Regions from separate parts of the Homo sapiens genome. Here region 1 is linked to region 2. The links are contacts of gene promoters, found by promoter capture Hi-C in blood cells and fetal thymus (Javierre and others, 2016). All regions are on one chromosome and are shown on one strand. The core of a region is centred on a gene start or on the middle of the fragment in contact, and the rest is flanking DNA. Distances in the headings are between cores, read along the strand shown.

The links. Contacts are between HindIII fragments. The CHiCAGO score rates a contact against its expected background, and 5 or more counts as called.
Region 1: a contact is called between a fragment that was not itself captured here and the fragment with the promoter of ACAD11 in region 2, in 5 of 17 cell types (total CD4 T cells, total CD8 T cells, fetal thymus and 2 more). The highest score is 8.5, in total CD4 T cells.

What each region holds. Positions count from the first base shown.
Region 1 is chr3:133,434,572-133,440,788 of GRCh38, forward strand. The region is part of intron 1 of BFSP2 (beaded filament structural protein 2); the gene reads left to right. BFSP2-AS1 (BFSP2 antisense RNA 1) reads right to left here. Exons shown (of 4, transcript NR_189064.1): 3 at 2,827-2,924. Among named protein-coding and RNA genes, the nearest start is that of BFSP2, 38 kb to the left of the region's middle. The HindIII fragment of the contact is 5,917 bases long and covers 1,323-6,217 here.
Region 2 is chr3:132,654,611-132,661,712 of GRCh38, forward strand. ACAD11 (acyl-CoA dehydrogenase family member 11) reads right to left here and starts at 5,199. Exons shown (of 20, transcript NM_032169.5): 1 at 4,993-5,199. The coding sequence starts at 5,141. UBA5 (ubiquitin like modifier activating enzyme 5) reads left to right here and starts at 5,719. Exons shown (of 12, transcript NM_024818.6): 1 at 5,719-6,088. The coding sequence starts at 5,928. The region is part of intron 26 of NPHP3-ACAD11 (NPHP3-ACAD11 readthrough (NMD candidate)); the gene reads right to left. RefSeq lists enhancers at 5,501-6,039, 5,575-5,664, 6,035-6,314. The HindIII fragment of the contact is 2,892 bases long and covers 3,713-6,604 here.

The DNA.
Region 1 (6,217 bases), core at 3,031-5,530, 780 kb after region 2:
TGTGACTTGCATGTATATGCCCAGATGGCCTGAAGTAACTGAAGAATCACAAAAGAAGTGAATATGCCCTGCCCCACCTTAACTGATGATATTCCACCACAAAACAAGTGTAAATGGCCGGTCCTTGCCTTAAGTGATGACATTACCTTGTGAAAGTCCTTTTCCTGGCTCATCCTGGCTCAAAAAGCTACCCCACTGAGCACCTTGTGACCCCCACTCCTGCCCACCAGAGAACAAACCCCCTTTGACTGTAATTTTCCTTTACCTGCCCAAATCTTATAAAACGGCCCCACCCCTATCTCCCTTCGCTGACTCTTTTCGGACTCAGCCCACCTGCACCCAGGTGAAATAAACAGCTCCATCAAGTTCAAGACACTTTTGTAAGCAATGATAGCAGCCATTTAGTTCATCCCTAAAGAACTGAGGGCCTTGGGAATTTAGCAATGTTAGTGCAGTCTTTTCACATTATTAACTGAAGAAAAATGAGTGCCCTTTAAAGATTTTTTAAGATTAGGAAACAAAAAGAAGCCAGAAGGAGCCAAATCAGGACTGTAAGGTGGACGCCTAATGATTTTCTACTGAAACTCTTGCAAAATTGCCATTATTCAATAAGAGGAATGGGCAGAAGCATTTGTCATGATGGAGGACTCTCTAGTGAAGCTTTCTCAGGTGTTTTTCTGCTAATGCTTTAGCTAACTCTCAAAACACTCTTATAATAAGCAGATGTTGTCATTTTTTGCCCTCCAGAAAGTCAACAAGCAAAATGCCCTGAGCATCACAAACTGTTGCCATGACCTTTGCTCTTGACCTGTCTCTCTTTGCTATGACCGGACCCCTTCCATCATTTGCTAGCCATTTCTTTGATTGTGCTTTGTCTTCAGGATTGTACTGGTAAAGCTATGTTTCATCTCTTGTTACAATTCCTTGAAGAAATGCTTCAGAATCTTGGTCTCACATGTTTAAAATTTCCATTGAAAACTCTGCTCTTGTCTGCGGCTGAGCTGGGCAAAACAGTGTTGGCACCCATTAAGTGGAAAGTTCGCTTAACTTTAATTTTTCGGTCAGAATTGTGTAAGCTGAACCAATGGATATGTTTATGGTGTCAGCTATTCTTTCTGCGATCAATAATTGGTCCTCTTCAATTAGGGCATGTACAAGATGAATTTTTCCCTTGCAAATTGTCTGCTGCTATGGCCTTCGTCTTCAACATCATTTTATTCTTTCTTAAATGAATTATCCATTTGTAAACTGCTGATTTCTTTAGGGCATTGTCCCCATAAACTTTTCATAAAGCTCCCATGATTTCATTATTTTTCTACTCAAGCTTCACCACAAATTTGATGTTTTCTCTTGCTTTAATTTTTTCTGAATTCATGTTGCTATGATAGGGGCTCTTTCCAAACTGATGTCTTATACTTCTTAGTGCCTCTTATATCTGATTCTGAACTATTCTGTTCAGATATAAGAACTTAGTATGAGTTTATTTTGGTGCAAAAAAATTTGAAATTTAGGCTGGGCACGATGGCTTATGTCTGTAATCTCAGCACTTTTGGAGGCCGAGGCAGGTGGATCACTTGAGGCCATTGCTACTAAAAATACAAAAAATTAGCTGAGTGCAGTGTCGTGTGCCTGTAGTCCCAGCTACTGGGTAGACTGAGGCACAAGAATACCTTGAACCCAGGAGGTGGAGCTTGCAGTGAGCCAAGTTCTCTTTGCTGCACTCCAGCCAGGGTGACAGAGAGAGACTCTGTCTCAAAAAAAAAAAAAAAAAAAAATCTATGTATTGTTTTTTCATAATACACATTTTTTTCCATGAATTTATTGAAGGTTCCTTGTCTATATGATAGGTTATGACTTTTTCTGTTGATAGGCATAGGTTGCTTCCAATTTTTCTATCACAAACAAGAGAGAGCATAAGCTCTCTCTAGTGAGGAACTGCCATGGCATAATACATAACAAGTGCTTAAAAAGCATTTGGGTTTGACTTGTTTGGCTTACTATGCACCTGGTACTGTCAAGACAAAGCAGCTCAATTTTATTTTTTATTATTATACTTTAAGTTCTAGGGTACCTGTGCACAACGTGCAGGTTTGTTACATATGTACACATGTGCCATGTTGGTGTGCTGCACCCATTAACTTGTCATTTACATTAGGTATATCTCCTAATGCTATCCCTCCCCGCTTCCCCCACCCCACTACAGGCCCTGGTGTGTGATGTTCCCCATCCTGTGTCCAAGTGTCCTCATTGTTCAGTTACCACCTATGAGTGAGAACATGTGGTGTTTGGTTTTCTGTCCTTGCAATAGTTTGCTGAGAATGATGGTTTCCAGTTTCATCCATGTCCCTACAAAGGACATGAACTCATCCTTTTTTATGGCTGCATAGTATTCCATAGTGTATATGTGCCACATTTTCTTAATCCAGTCTATCATTGTTGGACATTTGGGTTGGTTCCAAGTCTTTGCTATTGTGAATAGTGCCACAATAAACATACGTGTGCATGTGTCTTTATAGCAGCATGATTTATAATCCTTTGGGTATATATCCAGTAATGGGATGGCTGGGTCAAATGGTATTTCTAGTTCTAGATCCTTGAGGAATTGCCACACTGTCTTCCACAATGGTTGAACTAGGCAAAGCAGCTCAATTTTATAAGAAAAGGAACTGAGGGCTGGGCACAGTGGTTCACACCTGTAATCCCAGCACTTTGGGAGGCCAAGGAGGCAGATCACCTGAGGTTGGAAGTTCGAGACCAGCCTGACCGACATGGAGAAACCCTGTCTCTACTAAAAATACAAAATTAGCCGGGCATGGTGGCACATACCTGTAATCCCAGCTACCCAGGAGGCTGAGGCAGGAGAATTGCTTGAACCCAGGAGGTGGAGGTTGCGGCGAGCCGAGATCACGCCATTGCACTCCAGCCTGGGCAACAAGAGCGAAACTCAGTCTCAAAAAACAAAACAAACAAACAAAAACCAAAAAAATGAAAACAAACGAAAGGAAGGAAAGAAGGAAGGAAGGAAGGAGAAGAAAGAAAAAAGAAAGAAGAAAGAGAAAAAGAAAGAAGAGAGAGAGAAAGGAAGAAAGAAAGAAAGAAAGAAAAAGAAAGAAAAAGGAACTGAGCTATTTAACATTAGAACCATGATTCAAACATGGGGGTAATGGAAGATGGCTGAGCATGGGTTTTACAGGCCTGCCCTGGAGAGGGAGCACCGTGAAAAATAATCAAATAGCTGGCATTATTCTGCAGGCCTGAGAATGCTCAGTGGGGAAGCAAAACAATGATTTGGCTACCCGCCCATAGCTTCTGACAGCCAGGGGCACCTACATCGTAATTCTTAGCAGAAAGGACCTATATTTCACAGAAGCATCAGCAGAGTAGCATAGTAATTAAACTGATTTTTTGTCTTCCGTTTTGACCTTAGAAAATAAAACATCTGAGATTATAAGAGAGAAAGTGTGAGTATGAGGAGGAAACTGTCTATAGTTGATACAAGAAATAGAGTTCTATTATTTAAAGTGATCAAAACAGCCAGTAAAGGGAAAGGGAGGTGGAGGGTGAGTAAGTTAAATATTCATTTGTCAGCTAGAAGTCAGTAAACGATGTCTGTGGCAGATAACTTGAGCAATCAAGAAATATGTGGGCAGGCTCTGGATGAAAGAAACAGTAAGGCCAGGCACGGTGGCTCATGCCTTTAATCCCAGCACTTTGGGAGGCCAAGGCAGGCGGATCACCTGAGGTTGGGAGTTCGAGACCAGCCTGGCCAACATGGTGAAACCCCATCTCTACTAAAAATACAAAATTACAAAAATTAGCTGGGTGTGGTGGCACATGCCTTTAATCCCAGCTACTCAGGAGGCTGAGGCAGGAGAATCTCTGGAACCTGGGAGGCAGAGGTTGCAGTGAGCTGAGATCACACCACTGCACTCCAGCCTGGGTGGCAGAGTGGGACTCCATCTCAGAAACAAAACAAAAAAAGAAAAAAGAAAAGGTGAAAGTGCTGACAGCAGGGTGCGGGGAGAGGAAAGTGTGGGTCAGGGAAATGTTGGTCTCTAGAAGGTCTTCAGTGCTGTTTAACTTTTTAAATCAGGTGATAATTAAATTATCACTTGAATAATTTTAAAATTAAAATAGAAGAACTACAAAATAGAGCAAGGACTACTGAAATATTTACAGATTTTCCAAGTGATATATGCATAATAGCCTCCCAGATGGGGTGGAAGCTGGTAGGTAGAGATTGTAAAATTTAGCCATGATACTTCAATTGCTGAAGTGGAGGGATGGGGGGGTCATTATTCTAGACTCTTTCTACCTTTATATATAGTTATACATAGTTGAAATTTCCCATAGTTAAAAGGATATTTTTTAAAACAAGCACAGTCTGTGAGGTCAGACAGGTGTGAGTTAAGTTCTAGCTGAGCCACTTAGCAATGTGGGCAAGTTACTTAAACTCTCTGAGACTGAGTTTCCTCATCACATAATGGAAGTAACTGCTGTTCACCCACTTAGTGTGACCACTTACTTCAGATGTAGGGATGAAATGAGATTATGCCTGTGAAGGGCTGACTGTGGCATAAGTGTAGTAAGTGCTTTAAAAAATATTTTGGTTTGGTCTGTTTTGTTGCTTCTATGCGGGGTTTTTATAAAGAAGGTTTGGCTGTAAAATGTGAATTCTGCTTCTCAGGCATCTTATATTTGTTCTGTACCTCTATTTTCTGCCTTATGTGTTTGCTGTTGTTTAGTGTTATATTTCTCTCCTCAGCTAGCTTGCTTAGTCTATTCTGTTAACAAACATTTATTGAGCACCTATGTGCCAGGCACTGAACTGGGTGCTAAGGAAGCAGAGATGAGAGACTGTCCCTGATCCAAGGTCACACAAATCAGTGATGGAGAAAGGCAGGAAAAGATCAGAATAACATGCAGCATAAAAACTGCAGAGATTGATATACCACAGTGAGTATGGGGAGTACTGAGGATACCTAGCACAGCCTGAGCCAGGGTTTGAAGGATGGATAGGAGTTCACCAGACAAAGGAAAGTAGGAGGCAGTCTGCCATGACATGCCGAGGTAGCAGCAGGAGTCAAGGTCTGGAAGCTAGAAAGGCCTGAGTCTGTTCAGAAAAGTAACTCAGTTCATGGTTGGGGAGTGAGGGAAAAATAAAACTAGACTGAAGAGCAAGGTCCAAATTGTGCCCCAGGCTACAGACTTCATAGGACAAGGGGACATGGGAAGGTTCATTCCGGAGCACAGCTTCAAATAAAACATGAGTTCAAAACATGAGTTCCAATCTGCATCTGAGTAAGTTCATTCCAGTAGAAAGGGAGAGGGTGAGAGGTTAGAAAGCAGAGACAGACAGAGAGAGAGAGAGAGAAAGCAATGTCACAGAGGGAGTATAAGTCCATTTTCCTACTGCTGTGAAGAAATACCTGAGACTGGGTAATTCATAAAGAAAAAAGGTTTAATGAACCCACAGTTCCCCACGGCTGGGGAGGCCTCACAATCATGGCAGAAGGCAAAGGAGGAGCAAAGGCACATCTTACATGGTGGCAGGCAAGAGACCATGTGCAGGGGAACTTCCCTTTATAAAGCCATCAGATTGTGTGAGACTTACTATCTTACTATCATGAGAATAGCACGGGAAAACCTACCCCCATGATTCAATGATTCAATTATCTCCCACCAGGTCCCTCCCACAACACGTGGGGATTATGGGAGCTACAATTCAAGATGAGATTTGGGTGGGGATACAACCAACCATATCAGCAGGAGATGCTGGCTGTCTAAATAGATCCCCGTCAGAATCACTGTATCTGGATGTGCCTGGGGCTCAAAATTTGATTTTGTTGGGGCATCTGGAGAAAATTAAGCCCTAAAGGGCTGTCTCACAACAAACTCATCTGACATAAACAACCAGGACTGTGTTATAAATGGTAGGGTTTAAACCCTATATATGGTAGGGGTTAAACCTCTTTAGTGACCAGCACTGATGCCTACTATCCAAAGCAAGCCCTCGTATTTCTGAGGTTGCTGGAGGTGGAAGTCTAGGTGGGCCCAGAATCAGAACTTGGGGGGACAGAGAGGCTTCCAGGGAAAGAGGAGCCTAAAACACTTTGTCCTCAGCATGACAGACTTCTAGGGGCCAAGGTGATCCTGTTTGCCCAACAATGGCAAATAAACCCCGGCCAGCAGTTCTAGCTTCTCACTGCATGCTCAT
Region 2 (7,102 bases), core at 3,949-6,448:
GGCCTCCTTTCCTTTGGCTGTGGTAAGCCCTCTGGGAAAAGAGCAGCTACCCACCACCAGGTCAGTGGGCATTCTGAGGAAAACCAAACCTGGTTTTCTCAGTCAGTGTGCTGGTCTCCCAGAATACTTGCTGTGTTTCCCTTCTCTATTAATGCCTATGTGTGTTGGATAGAGTTACATGATTGTTGTGTAGAAGCCACACAATAAATCGTGAATTCCTAAGCATTTAATTGGCACTGATTCGTTGTGAAACTTCTCAGCTGGTTGGAGTTAGCATAAATAGGCTGATTTGAACCCGATAGGACACACCTGAGCTCTGTGGTACAGCCTGCTGCTCCTAGGCTATAAACCTGTGCAGCATGTGACTGTACTGAATACTGCAGGCAATTAATTGTAACAAAATGATAAGCATTTGTGTATCTAAACACATTTAAACATAGAAAAGGTACAGTAAAAACACAGTATTATAATCTAATGGGACCACTGCCGTATATGCAGCCCGTCATTGACCAAAACGTCATTATGCAGCATGTGACTATATACTTACACTATGACCACTTCTTACCCATTCTACACTCCCACTCTGGTCTATGCCACTGATATCTCCCTGCTGGAACACTGTAATACATTGGTGTCCTTGCTTCTGCCCTTGGCCCCTTCAGTCAACTCTCAACACAAGAAGCAGAGATTCTGTTTTTTTTGTTGTTGTTGTTTGTTTGTTTGTTTAAAGATTACTTCCCTCCTCTGCTCAAGCATGTTTTAAGTCTCTCTCCATCTCAATTCAAAGTAAAAGCCAAAGTCTCTTTATTGCCTGACAGGGTCCCTGTTGCCCTTGCTTACACTACTTCAGGCATTTGGGCTGTGTTTCCTCAACACACTGGGCACACATCCCTTCCAGGGCCTTTGCATTAGCAGTCCCCTCTGTCTGGAACACTCTTTTCCTGGATATTTACATGGCTCACATTTTCATCCCCCTTCAAGTCTTTGCTGAATGCCGTGTGCTCGAGGAAATCTTCCTGCCCCACACCCAAACATTTCCTATTCTCTTTTCCTCCATGTTACATATCAACTTCTACATTGTAAAGTTCAGAAGCTGATTTTCCTGTCTGTCTTCTACAAATACAATGGAAGTTCCAGGGAGGCAAGATTATTGTTACATCCTCAGTGGTTGATACAGTGCCAGATACATATTAGGCACTCAGCTGCAAATCACAAGTTTTGTTGTATCAAGCTATATAATACTTTCATTATTGATTAATTCTAAATATTTTATCTTTCCAATAAGATTTAATTTTTGCAAATTTTAAAAGTAAATCTTGCAGATAAAAAGAGTATTTATGAAATTGGTAAGGCATGAGGAATAGTAATGCCACAAACACCATTTTCACTACCCGGAGAAAATTACTGTCTTTGAAACCCTGTATGTCCTTCCCCTTGAGTGACTACCATTCTGAATTTTATATTTATCATTCCCTTGAAGTTTATCTCTGTATATAATATACTGTTAATTTCTTCACGTTTTTCATTCTGTGTTATGTACAGCTGTAGCTGAATCATTTTCACTGTTGTATGCTACTCCATTATGTGAATATACTGCAATTTATTCATCCATTCTGTATCTATAGACATTGTGTTGTTTCCTGGATTTTTGCTATTACAAACAGTACAATGAACATCTTTGTAGATTGTCCCCTTATACTGTAGTACAAGAAAAGTCTCAGGAGTATGTATCTATGAGTAGAACTGCTAGGTCATAGGTCATGTGTATCTTCCCAACTTCATTTTTACAAGATCATGTTGAGTTATTTTTCAATAGCAGCTATACTAATTCACACCCCTATATGAGTCCCTGTTGCCCCATATCCTGATGCTTGATATTGTCAGATTTTTTTTTTTTTTGAGACGGAGTCTGCCTCTGACTCACCCAGACTGGAGTGCAGTGCTGTGATCTCAGCTCACTAAAGCCTCTGCCTCCCAGGTTCAAGCAATTCTCCTGCCTCAGCCTCCCGAGTAGCTGGGATTTACAGGTACCCACCACCACACCCAGCTAATTTCGTATTTTTAGTAGAGACGGGGTTTCACCATGTTGGCCAGGCTGGTCTCGAACTCGACCTCTGGTGATCCACCTGCTTCAGCCTCCCAAAGTGCTGGGATTACAGGCATGAGCCACTGCACCCAGTCTATTGTCAGATTTTTTAAAAGTCAATTTGGTGGTGTGAAATGGTTTCTCATTGTGTTGTTTTTTTTTTTTTAATTTGCATTTCCCTTATTACTACAGTATAATAAAGTTGAGCATCATCAAGTTTTCGCCCATTTTTCTGGTGAGCTATTATAGTTATATTCTGAATATTTTAACCATTATATGCACTGAAAATATTTTCTTCTGTCTTTTCACTTTAAGTCTTTTAATGAAAATTTATCAGTCATTTCCTTTGTGGTTTCTGCTGTTGTCTTTAAAATATTTTCTTCTCTAAAGTCAAAAATATAACTTACACATCTTCCAAACATTTATAGTTTAACATTCAGTTCTTTTATCTACCTGGAACTGTGTGAGATAAAGAGTCTAATTTCTATTTCTTCATACAGATAACAATTATTCCAGTATAACTTCTTGAAAAGTTCTTCTTTTCCCCCCACTGACTCTCAGTGCCAACATTGTCACTTATCAAACTTCTATAAATATGTGGGTCTTTCTGTGAACTCTCTGTTCTATTTTATTGGTCTGTCTATCTCTGTGCTAATATCATACCATCTTAACTCAAATTTCCCACCTTGTGGTTCTTTAAAAATGTTTCTGCTATCCTTAGCCCTTCGCTCTTACACATAAAATTTAGGAGCACTTTTTCAAATTAGAGAAAAAAATTAGGATTTTGATTGTCATTGCTTTGAATCAATAGATCAACTGGAAGAAAAAAGTTTGCAATATTGAATATTCCTATTCAACAACATGGCATCTCTCAATTTTTAAAATTCTTTTTAAGGTCCTAATAAAAGTTTTATCATTTCTCTACAAAGGTATTGCACATCTTTTACTTAGGTAATTTATATTTTTGATGCTCCTGTAAGTTTTTGAAAATTACATTTTAACTGTTGCTAAAGTAGAGAAATGCAGTTGATTTCTGTACACTGAACTTTGATAGTCTTTTACTGTCTATGTAGATTATTGGCTCTTTAATCCATGAATCACTTAATTTATAAACATGTATTTGTTAGCTATCTTCTGTTAAACTTTTGGTATTAAAAAAACACATATTCCTTTTTTTTTTTTTTTTTTTTGAGTCTCACTCTGTCACCTAGGCTGGAGCATGGTGGTGCAATCTTGGCTCACTGCAACCTCCCTCTCCTGGTTCAAGCGATTCTCCTGCCTCAGCATCCCAAGTAGCTGGGACTACAGGCACGTGCCACCACGCCCGGCTAATTTTTGTATCTTTAGTAGAGATGGGGGTTTCACCATGTTGGCCAGGCTGGTCTTGAACTCCTGACCTCAAGTGATCCACGTGCCTCGGCCTCCCAAAGTGCTGGGATTACAAGTGTGAGTCACTGCACCTGGCCAAAACACACATTTTCAAAATATAAAGATTGATTCTTTTGAGTTTCTGAGACTTCCTTCATGGCCTATGTGTTTTCAATTTTTATAAACTTTTTCATGTGTCCTAGAAATGAATGTGTGTTCTCTGTGGGATCCAGAGTTCCATATATATTTATTAAACCAAGCTTATACAACATTTCTGGAAGCAATTTTTATACCACAACTAATTTACAACTAATTTCATTTTTTGAACACGGTTATGGTTTAACATTCAGCTTGGTTCAGAATTAAGTATCTTTCAGTTATGTACCTCTTCAACACTCCTACAATATGAACGTTACTATCTCCTTTTTGCCAAAGCAGGACTAGATGTTCAAAGGGTAACTTGTCCAAATTCCACAGCAATTGAAATAGTTGAAATTTGAACTTTGATCTGTTTCAGTTTGTTACAACACAAGGCTTCTAGCCTAGAAATCTCAGCTATTCTTTATTCCACCTTTCCCTTCATCTTCCAATATCTATTGGGACATGGGACCTTTAAATTCTACACCCTAAAATGTTCCCTGATCCATCTCATTTATTATTATTTTCATTTTCACCAAAATCAGTAGTCAAAGAATATAAATGCTAGTGATAAAATACCACTAGCACACTATGTTGTTGCAATTTTTACGCCCTTTCACCTATATTACGGTATTTCATTTCATTAATAAGACTAATCAAAATAGGTATTACAACTTAGGAAACTAGTTCTCAGAGTGTTTATGTAACATATTTAAACTCCCAGACAGCAAGTGACAGATCCAGTTTTCTGAATGATAGGACTCTTTCTGTAGCCCTGTATTAGTAACAATGTTATTTTTAGAATAAAGTTTTAAGAATGTATTATCTATTGTAAAACATCAGACTAAAGCCAGATTCCCGGTGGGGAACGCTACTCTCAGGATCCTCTCACTCAGTTCCATTACCTCACTTCAAAAAACCTGAGGCCCAAAGTGGTGCTGTGACCTCCTAAGTGGAAAAGCTAGTACTCGAATTCGGATCCTCCATCTGGTGTCATTAACTCAGCCTCCCGGAATACGGCCAATCAAACGGAATTACACCAGCTTCTCAGAAAAAGATCTAATGGCTGTATCACAAAAGAAGGCATCTATTTCTCAGAATTTGTAGCCTTAATTGCCTTGGTGAATCCTCAAGGGACATAAATCCATCCTTTAACAAAGATTCCTTTGGATAGTAGAATGGTGAACGTTATTGCGCTTCCATTACCGCCCTCCAATTGGGAAGCCCCCAGCATCGAATTCGGAGGGCCGGCAATAGCAGCTCATGCCTGTAGGGTGCGTCCACTGACTGCAGGAAAAGCAATCAGGGTGGGAGAAACTTAGGAAACCACCCAGGGCCAAAGGAAGGAAAACTCAATGTACAAATTTTTTTCCGCTGGAGGCAAAGGCTGACATCCATACCTGTACTGGGCAATGGTCAGCGTAGCCTCACGTTCGGCCCCAAAGCCAGACAAGTGCTGGTTTAGGTAGGCCTCCAGGGACTTGCTGTCGAACTTGTGCTGGGGCAGCACTTCGGCCAAATCGGACTCGCCAGTAGCACCTGGCTTCATGATCACCCCCGCAGGCCACAGCAACGCGGCATCCACAGGTCTCGAGTGCCGAAGTCCTTCAGGATTGGGGCAACGTCCCCTCTAGAGCATGGGCCGAGGCCGGGGTGGGGTCTGGCTCCAGCCAACCGCACACAGCCTACGCGCCGTTGCTGAGCAACGCTTGCCCGCTGAATCCCGAGGTTTTAGCTCTAGTCAAGTGCCAAAAGAGCCCAATGTGTGTTCGGGTTTCAATTCTCCAGTCAGCGTCAGAGTTGGAGGCCTCAATTTTAAAGAAGGCAAAGCCATGGTCATCGTTGCGGGTAAGGAACAACGCAGAAGCCTCTTCCACCCCCAAATTTAATGCAACAGCAGGCGGAAGACCTGCAGGGTCCCGTTCAGAAAAAGGGCCGTCAGACTGTCGAGCCTAAGAATAAAAAGACCCTGTTTCTCTTAGATACCCGGTTAGCAAGGCAACATCGCTGGCCTCCTGCCCTGGACACTTATCACCCCGGTGCTGCTGCGGCCGGGTTTAGCCGGCCCAGCGAGGAAGGAAGCCGAAAGAGCCAGGTTTTTGATGAGGGGGAGCGATGTCTGCGACGCACCGGAAGCGGCTCCGAGGAAGGCCTGTGGGAGTCTCGGAGACGTGTCTGTCTGTGAGGCGCTGGGTGCACGTCCCCAGGGCTCTGGGCTAGGAAGGCAGCGGCGAGGTGCCTCCCCACGTACCCCTCGCGGGCCCAGCCGAGCAACGTGGGGCGAAGGCGGCGGCGAAGGCCCGGGCTGGGAGCGTTGGCGGCCGGAGTCCCAGCCATGGCGGAGTCTGTGGAGCGCCTGCAGCAGCGGGTCCAGGAGCTGGAGCGGGAACTTGCCCAGGAGAGGAGTCTGCAGGTCCCGAGGAGCGGCGACGGAGGGGGCGGCCGGGTCCGCATCGAGAAGATGAGCTCAGAGGTGGTGGATTCGAATCCCTACAGGTAACCTGCGTCGCCGGTCGGAGGCAGGCGCGGGGGACGAGGTCAGGCTCCGTGAGGTCAGAAGTGAGGCGCTTCCCACGTCCCGCTCATGGGGACGCCCGCCACCCTTTTCTTGGTCTGCGAATCCTGTTCCCAAATGGGCAAGGCCACATCTTAGTACTGATCGGAAGATATTCTTTCTCTTTTTTAAAAACCTCCAGTGAGTCAGCCATATGGTGCTGCTCCTGTGCCTGCTGAGGACGTGTGTCCAGTTTCCTATCACCCTTGCCTCTTAATTAGTCCGCCTCGCTGTGTATAAGACTGATAGTAAGAACTTTCAGAAGATGAGATCAAATATTAAACCTGCTAAGGTAAACTTTGAGTTTCATTAAAGGCTTATCAATGCATCTTAAATGGGGTCGGGGCGGGGGAGAGCGGGGTTAGCTCTATTCTGAGATATTCGGGTGCTCCTTAACATCTCAAACCATTCGACATTACCAAGACTGCCCAGGCCTCTCTTTTCTTCTTTCCTAACAAAGCTTATCAATTCAGCAGATGGAATATAGTGCAATGGTTAAGGGTAAGGACTCTACCGCCAGACTGATTGCAATTCAAATCTAACTACTCTCTTCGTAACTGCCTAACCTTTGGCAAGTTGTGAAACTTTCCGCTTCAGCTTCTCACCTGTACAATGAAGATAATAGTAATATCTATCTCTGTCATAGTTGTGGGGATTGAAAAAATCAGTATGTATAAAGGTCTTAGAGTAGCGCTTGTACATGGCAAGCCTTATACAAGATTTTATTGCTAGGTGCATTTAGTAGCAAGCAGTTATTGAGCTTTCACTGTGTAAGCACTTTACATGCATTGTCTCCTCCCACCAAAACCCTATGAGATTGCTACTATTTTACCCCCATTATATAAGTGAGAAAATTGAGGCTTAGAGAGCCACCTCAGGTTCATGCCTTGGTAGTAAATAATAAGGCCTGTCTTGCATTAGATTTGTCTTAATGTAAAATTCTCATGAACCGTCTC